Regions from separate parts of the Homo sapiens genome. Here regions 2 and 3 are each linked to region 1. The links are contacts of gene promoters, found by promoter capture Hi-C in human tissues and cell types (Jung and others, 2019). All regions are on one chromosome and are shown on one strand. Each heading gives the region's core, a stretch centred on a gene start or on the middle of the fragment in contact. The rest is flanking DNA. Distances are from core to core; before and after follow the strand shown.

Region 1 (3,141 bases), core at 106-2,605:
CTGTGGTCCCACCTACTTGGGAGGCTAAGGTGGGAGGATCGCTTGAGCCTGGGAGGCGGAGGTTGCAGTGAGCTGAGATGGCGCCACTGCACTCCAGTCTGGGCCACAGAACCACAGCCTGTCTCAAAAAACAAAACAAAACAAAAGGTCAGGGTTGGGAAACAGGGAAAGCTTCCAGGCTGGCCTCTGCAAAAGCTAGGGAGGGGCAATGGTGTCCCCCAGTTTGCAAGAGCCCATGGCGAGCTTTTCAGGAATTTTGCCAACTGGTTGTTAAATACAGCTATTATTAAAAATTGAATTACATCAACTTATGATTAAACGGGCTAAGTTCAAAACAGGCAATTTTTTAAAAAGCATGAACCTTCAGGGAAGAGCCAGGTAAACAAAGGCAGCTGGTACCACGTGGGCTTCAGACCAGGGATCAGGCCCGGCCTCAACTCTGGGTGTGTCCTCCAGCAACTCGCTCTGCCGCTCTCTCCTGTCTTAGTAAGTTTCTGGCCTACTCCTCAGGGTTATTGTGGGAATTAAGTCACACCACGGGAGTACCCAGCAAAGTGCCACACCAAGCAGGGCTGGACAATGTTAGTTCCTTTCACTCACTAACAAGTTATTGGCTAGTGTCTCTTCCTGGGGCCTCTGGGTCAGCGGGGTCTCGTCTCCCTGTCCTCCTCTCTCTCCCCCGCCCTCTCTGGTGCCACCAGGTCACCCACTTCCACCCAAGGCTCCCCACCCGCCACTCGCCACGACCCCACCCGGCAGGCCGCCCCAAGCGGACAGTCACCCTTAGTGCCAACGTAGCGGCGCGCCTTCTCTCCTAGACTAAGCCCCCTCTTCCGCCCAGGTCCCGCGCGGGAGCCCCGCGCCGAGCACCCCCAAAGAGCCACTCCCTCCCCCTCCAGAAAGGCAAGCCGCCACGCCGCGGCAGTTACCCGGGTCTCGGACTCCCGGCTTCCTGGCTCCGCCATGGCCCCCGCGGCGCGGCGCCCCCTCCCCGCGCCCGCAGCTGTCCCCTCCTCCCGCCACCAACCTGCAGCGGACCAAAGGGAGGAGACTCCGGCACAGCCCACCGCCGCGGCCACTCGGAGCCGCTGCTGCCCGCGCCTTCCACTGGCCGGGCCGTGGGGGTACGCCCGCTCCGCCCAGCCCAGGCCCGCGCGGCCCCCGCGCCACCCGGCGTCCCCCTCAGACCCCCGCGGGTCCCGGAGGCCCCGCGCGCGAGGTTGGCAGGTGCCGGGCGCGAAGCGGCCGCGCGGGGGAGGCGCGGGATGGCGGCGGGCGGCGCAGGGTCCCCCTCTGGCGGTGGCGCGATGGTGCGCGCCGCCTGGGGAGCTGCGGCCGGGGGTTTGAACCGGCCAACTTCTCCAGCCGGCCGGGGCGAGCGCCAGCGCGGCGTCCGGGGCGAGTGAGTGCGGGGCGGGGGCAGCGGCCGGGCGCCTGGGCCGCCGGTCGGGCCACCTGCTGCCCGGGGAAGGATAGCGTTGCGAGAGTGGGACGGGGTGCCCCGGGAACCCCTGATCCACCTAGGGCAGAGGGCAGCGAGCTACGGGCCGGACTCGGGCACTCTGGAGGCGGGCGAGCTCGGGCTGCCTGGGGAGGCCGCAGGCGATGGCGTGTGCGCGGCTCGCGGAGCTTCCTAGCCGTGCGCCCACCCCCTCTGCCTTGGAAGGAAAGGGGATTCTAAGCCCAAGATGCCATCGCCCCCCATCCCGGGCATGCTTTCATTGCTCTTTCCTGGCGGGATCGAGTACTGTAACTTCTAGGAGCCAGATCCCCGCCCCAGGAAGCGCCCCTACTTGGAGTCCTCGGAAACTCTTGCCCCACCCGCTTCTGCGCTGGGCCCCCGGGCCGGCTGGGAGGGGCGGGGCCGGCTTTCCAGAGGGAATCTGCAAACTTATCCCGCTGCACGCCCCAGCCTCGCTGGCTTGCTGTAAACAAGGAACCCGGGGGAGTGCGGAGGGAGAAAGAGCTTCTCCCAGGCCTCACCCTACTGCACACACCGACTTCCTTCCTCACGCCTGTCTCTCTTTCCTGGTTCCCACCCGTGCCAGGTGACACGCAGAGCTGAAGCCATGGTTCATCAGGTGCTCTACCGGGCGCTGGTCTCCACCAAGTGGCTGGCGGAGTCCATCAGGACTGGCAAGCTGGGGCCCGGCCTGCGGGTGCTGGACGCGTCCTGGTACTCACCAGGCACCCGAGAGGCCCGCAAGGAGTACCTCGAGCGCCACGTACCCGGCGCCTCTTTCTTTGACATAGAAGAGTGCCGGGACACGGCGTCGCCCTACGAGATGATGCTGCCCAGCGAGGCTGGCTTCGCCGAGTATGTGGGCCGCCTGGGCATCAGCAACCACACGCACGTGGTGGTGTATGATGGTGAACACCTGGGCAGCTTCTATGCTCCCCGGGTCTGGTGGATGTTCCGTGTGTTTGGCCACCGCACCGTATCAGTGCTCAATGGTGGCTTCCGGAACTGGCTGAAGGAGGGCCACCCGGTGACATCCGAGCCCTCACGCCCAGAACCGGCCGTCTTCAAAGCCACACTGGACCGCTCCCTGCTCAAGACCTACGAGCAGGTGCTGGAGAACCTTGAATCTAAGAGGTTCCAGCTGGTGGATTCAAGGTCTCAAGGGCGGTTCCTGGGCACCGAGCCGGAGCCGGATGCAGTAGGTAGGTGTCCCAGTGCTGGGTGGTCCCTGGGGAGTATTGCCCCATGGAAGGATAGGGAGTAAGGATGACTGGGACCCTCTCCAGGGTCCGTCCCATGCCTTCAATCCTCCCATGTAGGCCTCAGTCTTTCCATCGATAAAACCAGAAAGTGGAGACAAACCTAAAGGCTTTTTCAGCTTGGATGCACAAGGACCCAAGAATGTGTCCTCATAGCCATGTGCTAAGAAGCCACCTAGCATCTGTGTGAGCAGAAGTCACTGGTGACATGTCCACCACCTCCACTCCCAGGCACCAGCTGCCCCACATGTACTAGGATATACCTAAGGGTGTCATGCCCCTGAGCCAGCGTTTGCATTGCTGTACAGAAACCTCCCACGGACACATCCAGCTTCTCCAGGCCTCTCTCGTCCCGCAGAAACCCTTATAGACATCAACAGTGTCCCTCCCCGCAGGATCCCCCTCTCCCCAAATCTAGCT
Region 2 (3,211 bases), core at 622-3,121, 140 kb after region 1:
GCCGCTGTGCCCGGCCCTGACAGTCTTTTAACTCATGCATGGAATCCATCTATGTTTATGGTATCAGAATTATTGATAAATTTGGACTTTTTACCAACTCACCCATTGAATAATATATATGTGTGTATACACACACACACACGCACACACATAGATGCGTTCATACCTTCTTTCTTTTACACATCTGAAAATTTGCCATCTCATTCTTTTTTGCTTGTTTATCTTTATGGTTACATTCTTTATTTCTTTAAATATTTCAGTCACATAATTCGGTAATCGGTAGTCCCTGGGGCTCTAAAGCTATTGTTTATTGCCTCTGCTCATTCTCACTCACAGAGATTTGGTGATCTTTGACTATGAGCCTTTTGCTTGATATTAATCAGGGTAACTCCTGCCAGCCTAAACTGGAAATACTTTACTCCAGAGGAGACCCTCTTCCGCTTCTGCTTGAAGCCAGGAATGCCACTCTCTCCAGATCACCTCAGCTCTCACATCTAGGGCCTTGGCCTGGCACGGAAGCCCCTGGCGCAGCCTCCCTATCTCATGGCCTCCCCATGGCTCTGCCTTCTGGACTGCCTCTGCACTCCAGAAAACAACACCCCAACTGCTCTGTATTCTGGTTTCAGCTCCTATCATAGTTTTTTTGGTGGGGAGTGGAAGAATCATTGGAGAACTCCTTTGCTTCTTGTGAGGCTCATAATTCCTCAAAGCCTGTGTCCTAGCTGAGGTCTGGTTGTTTTGTGGCAGAAAATTTTCTTGGTGAATGTGGTCAGGCAACAAACTAGAAGCCAAATAACTGGGTTTGGGAGATCACACCTTGCAAGGTCTTTTAAAATTTTTCTTAAATGGATATTTTCTAGTGTACTGTTGTGGTTCAAATTGTATTCTCCCCCAAAAGATATGTTGAATTTCTAACCCCAGTATCTCAGAATGCAGTGATCTTACATGAGATAGAGTCTTAGCTGGGTGCAGTGGCTCACACCTATAATCCCAGCACTTTGGGAGGCTGGGGCATGTGGATCACCTGAGGTCGGGAGTTGAAGACCAGCCTGACCAACATGGAGAAACCCCATCTCTACTAAAAATACAAAATTAACCAGGCGTGGTGGTGCACGCCTGTAATCCCAGCTACTCAGGAGGCTGAGGCAGGGGAATTGCTGGAACCCAGGAGGCAGAGGTTGCAGTGAGCTGAGATCACACCATTGCACTCCAGTCTGGGTAACAAGAGTGAAACGCCATCTCAAAAAAAAAAAAAAAAAAATAGAGTCTTTACAGAGCTAATCAAGTTAAAATGAAGCCATTAGAGTGAACTTCCTTTAATATTTTTTTGTAATGGCAAGTCTGCTTAACAATGAATATTCTCAGTTTTTGCTTATTTTGGAATGTTTTAATTTCACCTTCATTTTTGAGTGGTAGATTTGTTTTATGTAAGATTCTTGGTTGACAGGAAATCAGCTGTTAGTCTTAATGTAGTTCCCTTTTATGCGGTGAGTCATTTTTCTCTTTCTGCTTTCAAGATTTTCTCTTTATGTCTGGCTTTCAACATTTTGACTATGATGTGTTTAAGTGTGGCTTTCTTTGTATTTTACTACTTGGAGTTTGTTGAGCTTTTTGGATATGTAGATTGGTGGTTTTTTAAAAAATAAAAATTGGAAAGTTTCCAATCATTATTTCTTTTCATCCTTTTTCTGTCTCCTTCTCTCCTCTCTTTCTGGTAATCTCATTATGCATATGTTGGTACACTTCATGGGTCCCACATTTCTCTGATGCTCTGCTCATTTTTCTTCACTCCTTTTTCTTTATTTCTTTCTTAAGATTGCATCATCTCTATTGATCTATCTCTCAGTTTGCTTATACTTTCTCTGCTAACATTCTTTTGCCAACTCAAATCTACTGCTGAGCCTTTCTAGTGGACTTTTCATTTCAGTTATTGTTCTTTTCAACTCTAGAATTTCAATTTGGTTCTCTTTTAAAAAATTATTTATGTCTTTGTATTGATATTCTCTATTTGAAGAGTCATTGTTACAATACTTTCTTTTAATTCTTTAAACATGGTTTCCTTTAGTTATTTAAACATATTCCTAATATAAAGTCATTGTTTGCTAAGTCCAGCATCTGAATCCTTCCCTCAAAGGCAATTTTTTTAGTTTCCTTTGCCTGCTTTTATTTGCCTCCTGTGTATGGATTACACTTTGCTGTGTCTTTGCAATTCTTATAATTTTTTGTTGGGAACTATATTTGCCTGTTCTTGCACTGCTATAAAGAAATACCAGCTGGGTGCAGTGGTTCATGACTGTAATCTCAGCACTCTGGGAAGCCGAGGCAGGTGGATCACCTGAGGTCAGGAGTTCGCGACTAGCCTGGCCAGCATGGCAAAACCCCATCTCTACTGAAAGTACAAAAATTAGCTGGGCAAGGTTGGGGGTGCCTGTAATCCCAGCTACGCAGGAGGCTGAGGCAGGGGAATCACTTGAACCTGGGAGGCAGAGGTTGCAGTGAGCCGAGATCATGCCACTGCACTCCAGCCTGGACAACAAGAGCAAGACTCAGTCTCAAAACAACAACAACAACAACAACAACAACAAAAAACAAACAAAAAAACAAAAAAACACCTGAGACTGCATAATTTATAAGGAAAAGAGGTTTAGTTAGCTCTTGGTTCTACAGGCTATACAAGAAGCCTAGTGGCTTCTGCTTCTGAGGAGGCCTCAGGAAACCTTACAATGATGGTGGAAGATGAAGGGGAAGCGGGCAAGTTTTAAATGGCAAGAGCAGGGGAAGAGAGAGAGAAAGAGGAGGTGCCACATACTTTTAAATGGCCAGATCTCACTCACCATCGCAAGAACAGCACGGAGGGAATGGCACTAAACTATTTATGAGAATCCACCCCCATGATCCAACCACCTCCCATAAGGGTCCACTTTCAACCTGGGGATTATAATTAGACATTAGATTTGGGCAGGGACACAGATCCAAACCATATCAGGAACTGAACATTTTAGATTATATTTTGAAGCAACTCTAGATGCTGCTCTCCTATTCCCTCTAGGGCTTAATGTTTTTGTTATTTGGTTTGTTATCTGTTTACTTGTTTAGTGGCTTCACTGAACTAATTTTGTGAGGGCCGTTTCCCCTACAATGTGTAGCTTATGATGCCCCCGCTCGTATTTTTTCCTCTTGTGTTTTTTTTTTTTTTTTTCTCTCTTATCCT
Region 3 (2,968 bases), core at 252-2,751, 230 kb before region 1:
AGCATTCAAAACTAAGAAGTAAAGTAAGAACATCAGAACAAAGCAAAAGAAAGAAAAGAAACAATAAAGATAAGAATAGAAATTAATTAAATGGGAAACAAATGTATAGTAGAAAGGATTAACAAGACCAAAATTTGGCTCTTTGAAAAGGTGAGTAAAATTAATGAAACTGGGGAGCAATTGATTAAGAACAAAGTTTGAAGGCATAAATAATCAATATAGGATAAAAAAAGGGAGATAACAGAAATTAGAGAGGAGAGATTCAAAAGATATAAAATAATACTATGAATAGCTTTACACTAATGAATTTGAAAACCCAAGCAAAATGGGCAACTTTCCAGAAAAATATCTAAAGCATGACTCAAGAAGTAATAGTGGCCGGGCGCGGTGGTTCATGCCTATAATCCCAGCACTTTGGGAGGTCAAGGTGGGCAGATTGCTTGAGCTCAGGAGACCATCTTGACCAATATGGTGAAACCTCATCTCTACTAAAAATAAAAAATTAGCCGGGCCTAGTGGTGCCTGCCTGTAGTCCCAGCTACTTGCGAGGCTGAGGCATGAGAATCACTGGAACCCAGGAGGTGGAGGTGGCAGAGAGCTGAGATCACACCACTGCACTCCAGCCTAGGTGACAGAGTAAGACTCTGTCTCAAAAAAAAAAAAAAAAAAAAGGAATTCCAAATAGTCCTATACCCCTTAAAGAAATTGAATTAGTAGTTTAAAATCTACCCCTCTTCCCCCTCTCCCCCATAATTCTGAAACCAGGTCCAGATACAGATGGCTTTATAAATTTTATAAAATATTTAAGGGAGAGATAATGTAATATTATCCAAACTGGCTGGGCGCGGTGGCTCACGCCTGTAATCCCAGCACTTTGGGAGGCCGAGGCGGGCAGATCACGAGGTCAGGAGATCGAGACCATCCTGGCTAACACGGTGAAACCCTGTCTCTACTAAAAATACAAAAAATTAGCCAGGCGTGGTGGTGGGCGCCTGTAATCCCAGCAACTCGGGAGACTGGGGCAGGAGAATGGAGAATGGTGTGAACCTGGGAGGTGGAGGTTGCAGTGAGCCGAGATCGTGCCACTGCACTCCACCTGGGTGACAAAGCAAGACTCCATCTCAAAAAAAAAAACAAAACATAATATTACCAACTCTCATAATGAAACTAGTATAACCTTGATAACAACAACAACAAAAAAAGACAAAGACAATATAAGGAAAATGACCGGCCGATCTCCCCACCCTACCTGTAAATATTGGCAATTTCAAGCCAGCAATACACAAAAGGCGATGCATCATGACTGACTGAGTGAGGGTGTGACTGAAGCTGCTGTAACAAAAAGATCTGAAAACGCAGTGGCTTAAAGAAGCAAAAGTGTATTTCTCTCTCAGGTCTCGAGCTGAGTGGTCTGGCTCTATGTTGCCCCCACATGGTTCCAGGATTGTTCTGGCGTTTTTATTTCCTACTCCGTGGGGAGAGGGGAAAATGCTGTACAGGATAAATGGTTTAGCTTCCAAGGAGATGATGCAGAAGTTGCTGACATCACTTCCATTTGCACCTTTTTCCCCCAGACATGATCATAGGGCCCACTCTGCTGCAAGGGAGACTGAGAAATGTCTTTAGCTGGGTGAATGTGTGGCTAGCCCCAATGCTGGGATCTCTGTTATTAAAAAGAAGCAGAGAACGGTTGCTTAGGGATACTCAGCAATAGTCCCCATATTAACTAAATTAGACTTATCTGGGAATGCAAGGAGAATTGGACATCAGAAAATGTATTAATATAATTCACAACATTTCCATGGGTACAGAAAAAGACATTCAATCAAATTAAACGCTTAATAATGATAAAACAAAACTGCCGTTTCTAAGAATAGTAGGGAAACTTCTTTCAGTGACAATAATATCCACCAAAAGCCTGCAGTAGACATCAGGTTCAATGGTGAAACATTAGAAACAGTCTCTTTAAAATCAGAAATAAGACAAGGTTGCCTGCCAGCACTGATTCCCTTCAGCCCTGTAATAAAAGATCTAGACAAGCCAAGGAATTAACGTTATAAAAATTGGGAAGGAAGAAATAAAACTGTCACTTTTCATAAATGATAAGACTGTCTATAAAGACAGCTGTAGACTTGTTAGGAGCAAAATCTTTACATAAATTAGAATGAGAATTTCCATCCAGGTTTCTATATAAGTTCAATATACAAAATGTGACATTTTCCCTACGTATGGGCAACAAATAGAAAATTCAATTTAAAAAATATTAGTTATAATGGCACTGAAAGTAATAAGGTATCAAGGAATGAATCTTTCAAAAAATGTGCATGACCTTTCCGGGGGGAAATTATAAAACTTAATTGAAAGATATAAAGAAGCAATATACCATGTTAATGGACAGGAAGACTCAATATATAAAGATGTCACTTCTCCCCAAGTTCCTCTAGAAATTGAATACAATTCTAATCAGAATCCTCACACAGTTTTTCTTGGAACTTGACAAGCTTATTATGAACTTTATATGAAAGAGCAAAGTGTCAGTGGTAACGATAACAATTTTGAAAACATTCAAGAGTGGATGATTTGCTCTGCTGGGTATAAAGATCTGATATAGAACTTCAGTAGTTGGCTGGGTGCAGTGGCTCACGCCTGTAAGTCATACCAGCACTTTGGGAGGTCAAGGCGGGCAGATCACCTGAGGTCAGGAGTTCAAGACCAGCTTGGCCAACATGTGAAACCCTGTCTCTACTAAAAATACAAAATTAGCTACATGTGGTGGCAGGCGCCTGTAATCTCAGCTATTTGGATGCTGAGGCAGGAGAATCACTTGAACCTGGGAGGTGGAGGATGCAGTGAGCCGAGATGGTGCCGTCGCACTCCAGTCTGGGCAACAGGAGTGAAACTCCGTCTCAAAAAAAAAAAAAAAAAAGAACTGCAGTAATTGAGGCAGTGTTTTACCGGCTTGAGGGTG

What was found. The method cuts DNA at HindIII sites, captures the fragments that hold promoters and counts their contacts. A contact is called where the count stands out against the background at its distance.
Region 2: a contact is called between a fragment that was not itself captured here and the fragment with the promoter of TST in region 1, in 1 of the 25 tissues and cell types used here (spleen).
Region 3: a contact is called between a fragment that was not itself captured here and the fragment with the promoter of TST in region 1, in 1 of the 25 tissues and cell types used here (lymphoblastoid cells).

The regions. Positions count from the first base shown.
Region 1 is chr22:37,017,661-37,020,801 of GRCh38, reverse strand. TST (thiosulfate sulfurtransferase) reads left to right here and starts at 1,355. Exons shown (of 3, transcript NM_003312.6): 1 at 1,355-1,402; 2 at 2,049-2,664. The coding sequence starts at 2,070. MPST (mercaptopyruvate sulfurtransferase) reads right to left here and starts at 1,060. Exons shown (of 3, transcript NM_021126.8): 1 at 930-1,060. The coding sequence starts at 965. RefSeq lists silencers at 744-1,063, 1,074-1,193, 1,224-1,613, 1,774-1,833 and enhancers at 1,307-1,808, 1,837-2,812. The HindIII fragment of the contact is 8,246 bases long and covers 1-3,141 here.
Region 2 is chr22:36,880,342-36,883,552 of GRCh38, reverse strand. No RefSeq gene overlaps it. Among named protein-coding and RNA genes, the nearest start is that of NCF4-AS1, 12 kb to the right of the region's middle. The HindIII fragment of the contact is 9,229 bases long and covers 1-3,211 here.
Region 3 is chr22:37,251,829-37,254,796 of GRCh38, reverse strand. No RefSeq gene overlaps it. Among named protein-coding and RNA genes, the nearest start is that of RAC2, 9.0 kb to the right of the region's middle. RefSeq lists an enhancer at 989-1,490. The HindIII fragment of the contact is 6,144 bases long and covers 1-2,968 here.